2 separate regions of the Homo sapiens genome follow, and region 1 is linked to region 2. The links are contacts of gene promoters, found by promoter capture Hi-C in human tissues and cell types (Jung and others, 2019). All regions are on one chromosome and are shown on one strand. The core of a region is centred on a gene start or on the middle of the fragment in contact, and the rest is flanking DNA. Distances in the headings are between cores, read along the strand shown. Region 1 overlaps GALNT9 (polypeptide N-acetylgalactosaminyltransferase 9). Region 2 holds the start of P2RX2 (purinergic receptor P2X 2).

Region 1 (4,388 bases), core at 244-2,743, 350 kb before region 2:
ATCACCAGGAACCTCCTCCAGAAGGCAAAGGCCGGCACAGAATCCTGCAGGCTTCACAGAGCCCTGCCCAGGGGCAAACCAGAGAGCTGGGGCCTGGAGTACCCAGCAGGTGATGCCACCTCTGTGCCCTGCCAGGTGCCACCTGGAGATAAAACCCCAGGGACAGGAGCCCCTGAGAACAGCTGGCTTCACGCGTTAGCTCTTGCGTACATAATGGTTCTGAGTCTACGACTGTAATCAATAGGAACTCAATTTGACTTCAATTGACTTCAATTCTTTCTTTAAGAAGAAATGGATTGGATGTGTCTGAGGTCCCAGGTGGAGCTGTCGGCCGTCATCTCCCGGCCAGAGCCCGACCACACAGCCACAGCCATGGCCACAGCCACAGCCACGGACACGGCCACGGCCACAGCCACAGCCACGACACCCTGCAAGGGATGCCAGGAAATGTGGTCTTCACTCTGGCTGGAGCCCAGATACATTTCAGAATTCTATCAGGGAGGAAGAGCGGGAGAAAAGATAAGAGGCAGATGACGGTCAGTCATTGCCACACACAGGGAGGAAGGGGAGTGGGAGAGGAGACAGGAGGCAGAGATTCAGAGAGAGCAAGGAGGAGATGGAGCAGAGAGACAGCGAGGGGGAGAAAGGAGGGAAGGAGGAGACAGGGGCAGAGAGAACGAGACAACAGCAGCACAGTCCTTAAAAATCAAGCAGAGGGGAGAGCAGGTGCCTCAGCTGCCGCCGTCCGCTGCTTCTCCATGACAGACGCTGCGCCCGTCACTCTGTGCCAGTCCCCCATGCGCCCTTCAGTGCCGTGTGTGTTACTGCGGCAGCAGTGGCCATGTGGGGCCACACGTTCTCAGCAGGGCGGTCACACGTGAACAGCCTGTGTGTGTCTCTGAGCCTTGGGGACACGTTTGCCAGCCGACGAAACTCCAGTCACCCGTCACTGCCAGGGCTCGAGGGTGGGGGGAGGAGGAGACAGGAGAGAGGAGAACGCTGCCACGCCCCGCCCGGCTCCCACCCGTCACTCTGCCTCCGCCGCTCCCACCCGCACACCTGTACATCTGCCTTCTTGTGTGTTTCTTCCAGGTTTCTTTATCCCATTTTGAACCAATTTTATCACACCATAAAATTAAGAGATTGTCCTCTTTAAAACAATGAAGCCAGGACAGATCCACCAAGCCTCCCTCCGACGCCCACCCTCAGGCCCCGCCCCTGTCCCCCGAGGTGACGCCGACGTGGGTGTGACAAGTGTCCCTCCAGGTCTGCCCACAAAACACTGGCCTGGCGCTGTGCCCTGCTTTTTAGACACAAACGGCGTTGGGGCAGCTGTGGCCTCGTGCCTTGCCGTGATGCTCCGGCATGGGGTCTGTAAATGGACCCTGCCGAAGGCTGTTTCAGGTTCAGGCTTGGCCGAGGTCCCAAGTCAACAGGGCCAGCGACGGCCAGGGCCCCAAGGCGAGCAGAGCCCCGCACAGAACGTGCAGGGAGGCTCCCACGCGTGGGAGGCCGTGGCTGCCAGGAGGGCCCGTCCCCCGTGCGCCCTTCAGTGCTGTGTGTGTTACTGCGGCAGCAGCCATGTGGGGCCACACGTGTTCTCAGCAGGGCGGCCACACGTGAACTGTGTGTGTCTCTGACCCTTGGGGACACGTTTGCCAACTGACCAAACTCCAGTCACCAGCCACTGCCAGGGCCAGAGGCTGCGCTCGAGGGCGGGGGGAGGAGGAGACAGGAGAGAGGAGAATGCCGTCACGCCCCGCCCGGCTCCCCCAACTCAGAGCAGCCCCAGAGCGGTCGGGGGACGCACCGTGGGGACAGATGCACGGCGGGGACCCCTCTGTGGGCCACGCCTGCTCATCACGGGACCCAGGCTTCTGTTACGAGCGAGCAGAACCCTGTGGGCCTGGCCCAGGTCTCACAACGACCCAGGGAAGCACCCCCTCAACGGGACAGAGTGGGCAATGGTGCGGGGCGGGACAGGGTCAGGGCAGGTGCTCCTTGGCATTCTGACGGTGGCTCCACACAGGCCCTCCACGATGCCCCTGCAGCAAACTTGTGCAGAAGAAAATATCACAGCGCCACCACCCTACTGCCGGGCGCTTAAATTAGTTCCCGGCTTCCCGTGACACCCAGCAGCTGTGGAAGTGCCTGGGCAGGTTGCTTGCACATTCTTTCTGGACTTTTCTGTGTTTTCCGCAGGAGAATGCTCTTACTTCATGCCATTAATGTGCACCTAACACCTGACACTCATCACAAACCTTTGTAGACAAACTGCTGTTTAAATTGGAAATAATGGAACACATACACCTCATTTTTCACCCAGCACTAGTTAGCATAAAATAATTTCTTTTACCCATAATACAGTACCCTTCTCAATTAACAAACTGTCTTTAATTTTTAAAGGGATATTTATCAAACATACATCAAATATGACGATGAATGAAGCAATACAAAGCCTGTGCCCAACGCTCAGTCTAGGAAAGTGGGTGATCACCCCGGCGTCCACCCTCCCTCCACTTCGCAGGCTGCCGTCTCTGGACCTCGTGTGCCTTCCCCGTGGCTCTGCGCCACGCCTTCCCATCCCCAGCCACACCCGGCTCACCTTTGAGCTCGACGCCATGGCCACTGTCTCCCGCACACGGGCCTTAGGGCCCCACTCCTCCTCCTGACATTGAGTTCCTGAGATTCCACCTGAGTGGCTGTGAGCACTGTGGTCATTCTCGCTGCCAGGCTGTGTCTGTTCTATGAAATCACAGTTCCACTCTGCTGGTGGGGGCAGCAGTGGCTTCCGGACTCTCCTTCTTTCTTTCTTCTTTATTTTTGAGACAGAGTCCTACTCTGTTGCCCAGGCCGGAGTGCAGTGGCACAATCTCGGCTCACTGCAACCGCCACCTCCCGGGTTCAAGCAATTCTCCTGCCTCACCCTCCCGAGTAGCTGAGATTACAGGTGGGTGCCACCATGCCCGGCTAATTTTTGTATTTTCAGTAGAGACGGGGTTTCACCATGTTGGCCAGGCTGGTCTCGTGTGATGCGCCCGCCTCGGCCTGGGGTTCCTGTTCTTGCTCAGGGCCGCTGCTGCTGGCTGCCTCCTGGTTTCCAGCTGTGCCCGAATCAGCTCGCCCCACTTCAATGGTGGCAAGGTGCCCTTCCTGGGGGCGGGCAGCCCAGGACCCACAGCCGGGACCCTGTAGGCTCCAGCAGCTCTGTGTGAGCAGCCCTGGCCCCTGGCCCTGTGCTGGAGGCAGCGTCCTCCCCACTCCGATGTCACAGAGGAAACAAATGCAAACCGTTCAGCAGTGGCCCCCGAATAACTCAGCCTGAGTGGAACCCGAGGGTTCTTTGCAGGACTTAAGTGGCGCCGTTTCTGTCAGACAGAAAATAAACTAAGTTTATGGTATTTGGAAAGCATCAGAGTTCAGCAAGATCACGGCACCCAGGACCACTTGAGAGCTGCAGTGATTGAGGGCTGGGCAGAGGCGACGCAGCTGGGGACAGGCCAGGAATGTCGGCCCCATCCAGGGAGCACAGGGCGCCCCTCCCAGGGCCTTGGAGGAAATTCAACCCTGTCAAGCTTGGAGGCCTTCGGCGCATTTAGCCGTTGAAGGAAGTACCCACCGTGGTGTGCTCCAACCAGCATTTTCACATTCACAGTGAGGCCAGCTCGCTCCTGCTCCCACCAGCCCATCGCAGGTCAGAGAAAAGCCAGACGCCCTGCTCCACATCTCTCTCATACTTCTCCGCTCTTCACAACAGGCAGCCTGGCCAGCCCCTTCTCACCTCCCTGGGCACTGCGGCTGCACCCCCAGGCCTGGCAAGGTCACGGTGACCTCCACACCAGCCCATGCAATTCCAGGCTTCCCATTGCCCCTGAGAAGGTCAAAGCCCCGGGTTGCTCAGCCAGGCCGCTCCCTCCACCATCCCCTCTTGGTTCCCTTTGGCTCACTCACCTGCGCCCGGCCCCTGGCTCTGTGGCCTGCGCTCCAGGCCTGCTCCTGCCCCAGGGCCTTTGCGCTCCCCACCCCCACCTGGATGGCCACACACGCCCTCACCCTTCAAGAGGCTCACCCCGTGCTCAACGTAAAATCCCACCAGAGCCCCGGCCTCCAGCCTGCTGCTCTGCCTCTCCCACCCCCACCCCCGGCTTGCTCTTTGCACCCCTGCCCTGCTCTCCTGCTGGCTGGGGCTCCTGGGGCAGGGGTTCTGGGTGTGGGTTTGCTGTTTCACCGCCTCATCTCGGGACCCAGAACTGTAGACGCACACAGGGCTCCATGTGTGGCCTTTATGGAGCTTGAATTCATTGCACTCAGCAGAGGGGAAGGCAGGTGATGAGCGGGCGTCGTCCAAAGCCTCAGAGCTGTGGGTGAGTCTCCAAATGGTTTTGTTT
Region 2 (4,731 bases), core at 746-3,245:
TAGAGGGCTCAAAACACATGGTCATAGAGCACAAATCCAGCAGAGAGAACTCACCTATGACTCTAGATGCTTTGAGAGATCAGCAGGCACACAGGCCCTACTGAGCATTCAGTGCTCCTAGGGGGTGGCTGGAGGTCTACTTCAGATCCCACTTCTGACACCAAACTGTTAAAACAAAAACTTTGGACAAATTAAATTTAAGAGTTTGTGTGTGTGTGTGTGTGTGTGTGTGTGTGTGTGTGTGTGTGTGACAGAGTCTCCCTCTGTCATGCAGGCTGGAGTGCAGTGGTGCAATCTCAGTTCACTGCAACCTCCACCTCCCAGATTCCAGTGATTCTCCTGCCTCAGCCTCCCGAGTAGCTGAGATTACAGATGCCACAACACCTGGCTAACTTTTGTGTTTTTAGTGGAGACGAGGTTTCGCCATGTTGGCCAGGCTGGTCTCGAACCCCTGATCTCAAGTGATCCACCCATGTTGGCCTCCCAAAGTGCTGGGATTACAGGTATGAGCCACTGTGCCCAGCCAACAGAGTTTAATTGAGCAAAACACAACTCATGAATTGGGCAGCACTCAGAACCAATGGGGGAGGTTCGAGAGCTCCACTCTGTAATGTGGGCAGGAAGTTTTTATAGATAGAACACAGAAGTGAGATACAAAAAAAAAAAAATCACAATTAGCTTGATTTTGTTACTGCTTGAAATGTTTGCCTTATATGGCATGATCAGATCAGTTAGCAGCCTGTGACTGGCTGAGACCCAGCTATTTGTTCCAAAATATACTCATAGGTTAAGCTTTTAGCTTGTTTCTGTGGTACATTAGGTTGCAGTTTGTTGTTACCTAGAAACTCAAGGCACAGAGGCAGCCTGTTAATTGAGTTAATTTAACAGTTCAAACAAATACTTATGCACCAGTGTTTATAACAGCACTATTCACAGAGTTAGTTTGAAAGCAATCTAAATTCCTTCTTTGGATAGCCTAGACATTTCTCCTGGCCATAAGAAGGGGTGATGCCCTGACACATGCTACAATGTGGATGAACCTTGAAAACATGCTCAGTGAATGAAGCCAGACAGAAAAGGCATTAACCCAGAAACAAATATTGCATTTCCTTGATATGAAATATCCAGAACAGGCAAGTCCATTCACTGAGACAGAAAAGCGACCAGTGGTTGCCAGGGCATGGGAGGAGTGTGGAACGGGTCGTGACTGCTTAATGGATGGGAGTTTTATTTTGGGGTGGGGAAAGTGTTTGGGGACGAAACAGAGGCGGTGGTGGTTGCACAATGTTGTGAATGTCACTGAATTGTTTACTTTAAAATAGTTAATTACATGCTATGCTGATTTTATCATAATAAACTATTTTAAAATTATTTTGTGAAAAACTGTGATGCTTGGGATTTGCTTCAAAATAATGTGGGTGGGGTGGAGGTTCGAAAAGTTACCAAAAAAAAAAAAAAAGAAAGAAAGAAAGAAAGAAAACTCTGGCTTGCAAAGAAGAAAACGGATCGGCCGTGGATCCCTCTCCAGCTCGAGGGCTGGAGCTGCGGCGGAGGCAGGAGCTGGAAGCGAGGCGTCTGCTGGCAAAGGCGGGAGTGCAGGTTGCGCTCGAAGCCCCGGCAGCCGCGGCAGGAACCGGCCTGGACGGGGTGGGGGGCGCCGCGGAGGCCGGCGGGACTTCCCATGTCTTTCTCCTCGAGCTCGGAAAAAGTTCCCACCCGGGGAATCCCGACCCTCCAACTTCGAGACCGCCGGTTCCGCGCTCGGCCCCCACCTGGACCAAGAGCTGGGGCTGGGCTGCCGCGCCCCCGGCTCTGTCCCCGCGAGGCCCCGCTCCCAGCCCCACCTGGGACACCCGGGACTCCCGGGACACCTGCGGGGCGGGGCGGGGCCGGGGCGAGGCGGGGCGGGCTCGAGGCCGCACCCCGGAGGCGGAGCCGCGAGCTACCCGCCCGCCGCGCGCCCCCCGCTCTCGGTGCGCAGCGGGGCCGACCCTCAGCCCTGCAGCGCCTTCCTGGAGGTGGGGGCCGCCCGCGCCATGGCCGCCGCCCAGCCCAAGTACCCCGCCGGGGCGACCGCCCGGCGCCTGGCCCGGGGCTGCTGGTCCGCCCTCTGGGACTACGAGACGCCCAAGGTGATCGTGGTGAGGAACCGGCGCCTGGGGGTCCTGTACCGCGCCGTGCAGCTGCTCATCCTGCTCTACTTCGTGTGGTGCGCGGGGCGCGGGGTGCGGGGCGCGGGGTGCGGGGCGCAGGGGAGGGGCTGGGATTGGGGGCGCTGGGCTGGAGGCGCGGGGCTGGGGCTGGGGCTGGGACCGGGGGCGCGGGGCAGGGGCTGGGGCTGGGACCGGGGGCGCGGGGCAGGGGCTGGGATTGGGGGCGCGGGGCAGGGGCTGGGACTGGGGGCGTGGGGCAGGGGCTGGGACTCGGGGTGCTGGGCTGGAGGCGCGGGGCTGGGGCTGGGACCAGGGGCGCGGGGCAGGGGCTGGGGCTGGGACCGGGGGCGCGGGGCAGGGGCTGGGGCTGGGACCGAGGGCGCGGGGCAGGCCCCAAGAGCCCCGCAGAGCGGACCCGGGTCGCGGGAGGGCCCCTGCCGTGCCTGCGGGCGGGACTCAGCCTTCCCAGGGTCGCCTCCGGAGCCGGCGCCGCCCCTGCCCGCAGGTACGTATTCATCGTGCAGAAAAGCTACCAGGAGAGCGAGACGGGCCCCGAGAGCTCCATCATCACCAAGGTCAAGGGGATCACCACGTCCGAGCACAAAGTGTGGGACGTGGAGGAGTACGTGAAGCCCCCCGAGGTGCGGGCCGCCCCCTGCCCCCCGCCCCGCCGTGCACCCTACCCTAGTGGGCGGAGGGGGCAGCGGCTGCCGCCTGGCCGACCGCCCCCTCTTTCTGAGCCCAGGGGGGCAGCGTGTTCAGCATCATCACCAGGGTCGAGGCCACCCACTCCCAGACCCAGGGAACCTGCCCCGAGGTGAGGGGATCCCGCGGCGCTGGGGGACCCCGCCTCAGCTAGGCGGGCCAGCTGTCCCTTGCGGGGTCCCTGACTGGGCCGCCTCCACCCTAGAGCATAAGGGTCCACAACGCCACCTGCCTCTCCGACGCCGACTGCGTGGCTGGGGAGCTGGACATGCTGGGAAACGGTCGGTGTGCGCCAGCTGGGGCTGGGCGGGTGGGGCAGGGCTGCGTCCCCGCTAATGCCTCAGTGACCTCTGCCTCCCAGGCCTGAGGACTGGGCGCTGTGTGCCCTATTACCAGGGGCCCTCCAAGACCTGCGAGGTGTTCGGCTGGTGCCCGGTGGAAGATGGGGCCTCTGTCAGGTGCACCTGCGCCCCGGCCTGGGGCCCAGCCTCCCCTCTGATCCTTTTCCCCTGACCAGAGGCCAAACGGGCGGGGCAGGAGTGACAAGATCTGGGGAGGGGTGGGGGCCAATGCCAGGCGGGGGCTTTGCGGGAAGAGGGGACTAAACAACCCTTCTGTGCCTCCTCAGCCAATTTCTGGGTACGATGGCCCCAAATTTCACCATCCTCATCAAGAACAGCATCCACTACCCCAAATTCCACTTCTCCAAGTAAGAGCCGCGGGGTGTGGTGACGGCCCAGCCTGAGGGCTGCCTTCTGGGAATGGGGTATTTGGGGTGCAGGTCTCGCCTCCTGCCGCCTCCTCAGGGGCAACATCGCCGACCGCACAGACGGGTACCTGAAGCGCTGCACGTTCCACGAGGCCTCCGACCTCTACTGCCCCATCTTCAAGCTGGGCTTTATCGTGGAGAAGGCTGGGGAGAGCTTCACAGAGCTCGCACACAAGGCAGGGCAAGCGCAGGCAGGGTGGGGCCAGGGTGGGCTCCCACCTGCACAGAGAGGGCCTGGGGTACAGGGGACCAGTCCCTCCTCCCTCCTGACCAGCTGGCCCCGCTCAGGCAGAGGAAAAGAAATGCGATCAGCGCAACCCATCCGGTGTGGCGCTTGCTGAATTATTGACACTGGCCATGGGGCTGGCTGCTGGCACCCCTTGTGCCTCAGACACTGGACGCCCACCAGTACCCCTGAGCTGCCCCATGGGCCCCTCAGTGCACACCTCACATGCAGCCTGGGACTGACCCGGGCTCTCGAGGGGCCTCTCGTGTGCCCTTGTGACCCCCTTCCCTGGCCTGGGACTGACCCGGGCTCTCGAGGGGCCTCTCGTGTGCCCTCCTGACCCCCTTCTCTGGCTCCTTCTTGGCAGGGTGGTGTCATCGGGGTCATTATCAACTGGGACTGTGACCTGGACCTGCCTGCATCGGAGTGCAACCCCAAGTACTCCTTCCGGAGGCTTGACCCCAAGCACGTGCCTGCCTCGTCAGGCTACAACTTCAGGTGCTGTACTTGGGACACCGCTGTCCACACTGGCATAGCTGTGGTGGGGTCCCGAGAGGCCCAATGCCTGTGGGGCAGCCCTGGAGTGCAGAGGACGAGTGGGCACTGGCGTTCCCATTGCAGGTTTGCCAAATACTACAAGATCAATGGCACCACCACCCGCACGCTCATCAAGGCCTACGGGATCCGCATTGACGTCATTGTGCATGGACAGGTGCCTGCACCTGCTGGGGGTGGGTGGCCAGCCCTGCTAGCCTGGGTCTGAGCTCCTCACGCCCCACCCCTCCCTTAAGCCCCATCAGACGCCGTCAGACATTCTGACCACGACCCCCATTCTCCCCAGGCCGGGAAGTTCAGCCTGATTCCCACCATTATTAATC

Evidence for each region. The method cuts DNA at HindIII sites, captures the fragments that hold promoters and counts their contacts. A contact is called where the count stands out against the background at its distance.
Region 1: a fragment that was not itself captured here is called in contact with the fragment with the promoter of P2RX2 in region 2 in 1 of the 25 tissues and cell types used here (dorsolateral prefrontal cortex).

What each region holds. Positions count from the first base shown.
Region 1 is chr12:132,270,316-132,274,703 of GRCh38, forward strand. All of the region lies in intron 2 of GALNT9 (polypeptide N-acetylgalactosaminyltransferase 9), which reads right to left. Among named protein-coding and RNA genes, the nearest start is that of GALNT9-AS1, 2.9 kb to the right of the region's middle. RefSeq lists enhancers at 2,667-3,561, 3,562-4,388. The HindIII fragment of the contact is 6,377 bases long and covers 1-4,388 here.
Region 2 is chr12:132,616,781-132,621,511 of GRCh38, forward strand. It overlaps P2RX2 (purinergic receptor P2X 2), which reads left to right and starts at 1,996. Exons shown (of 11, transcript NM_170682.4): 1 at 1,996-2,209; 2 at 2,659-2,794; 3 at 2,899-2,970; 4 at 3,064-3,139; 5 at 3,220-3,316; 6 at 3,487-3,567; 7 at 3,665-3,803; 8 at 4,221-4,351; 9 at 4,475-4,565; 10 at 4,695-4,731. The coding sequence starts at 2,037. The HindIII fragment of the contact is 14,975 bases long and covers 1-4,731 here.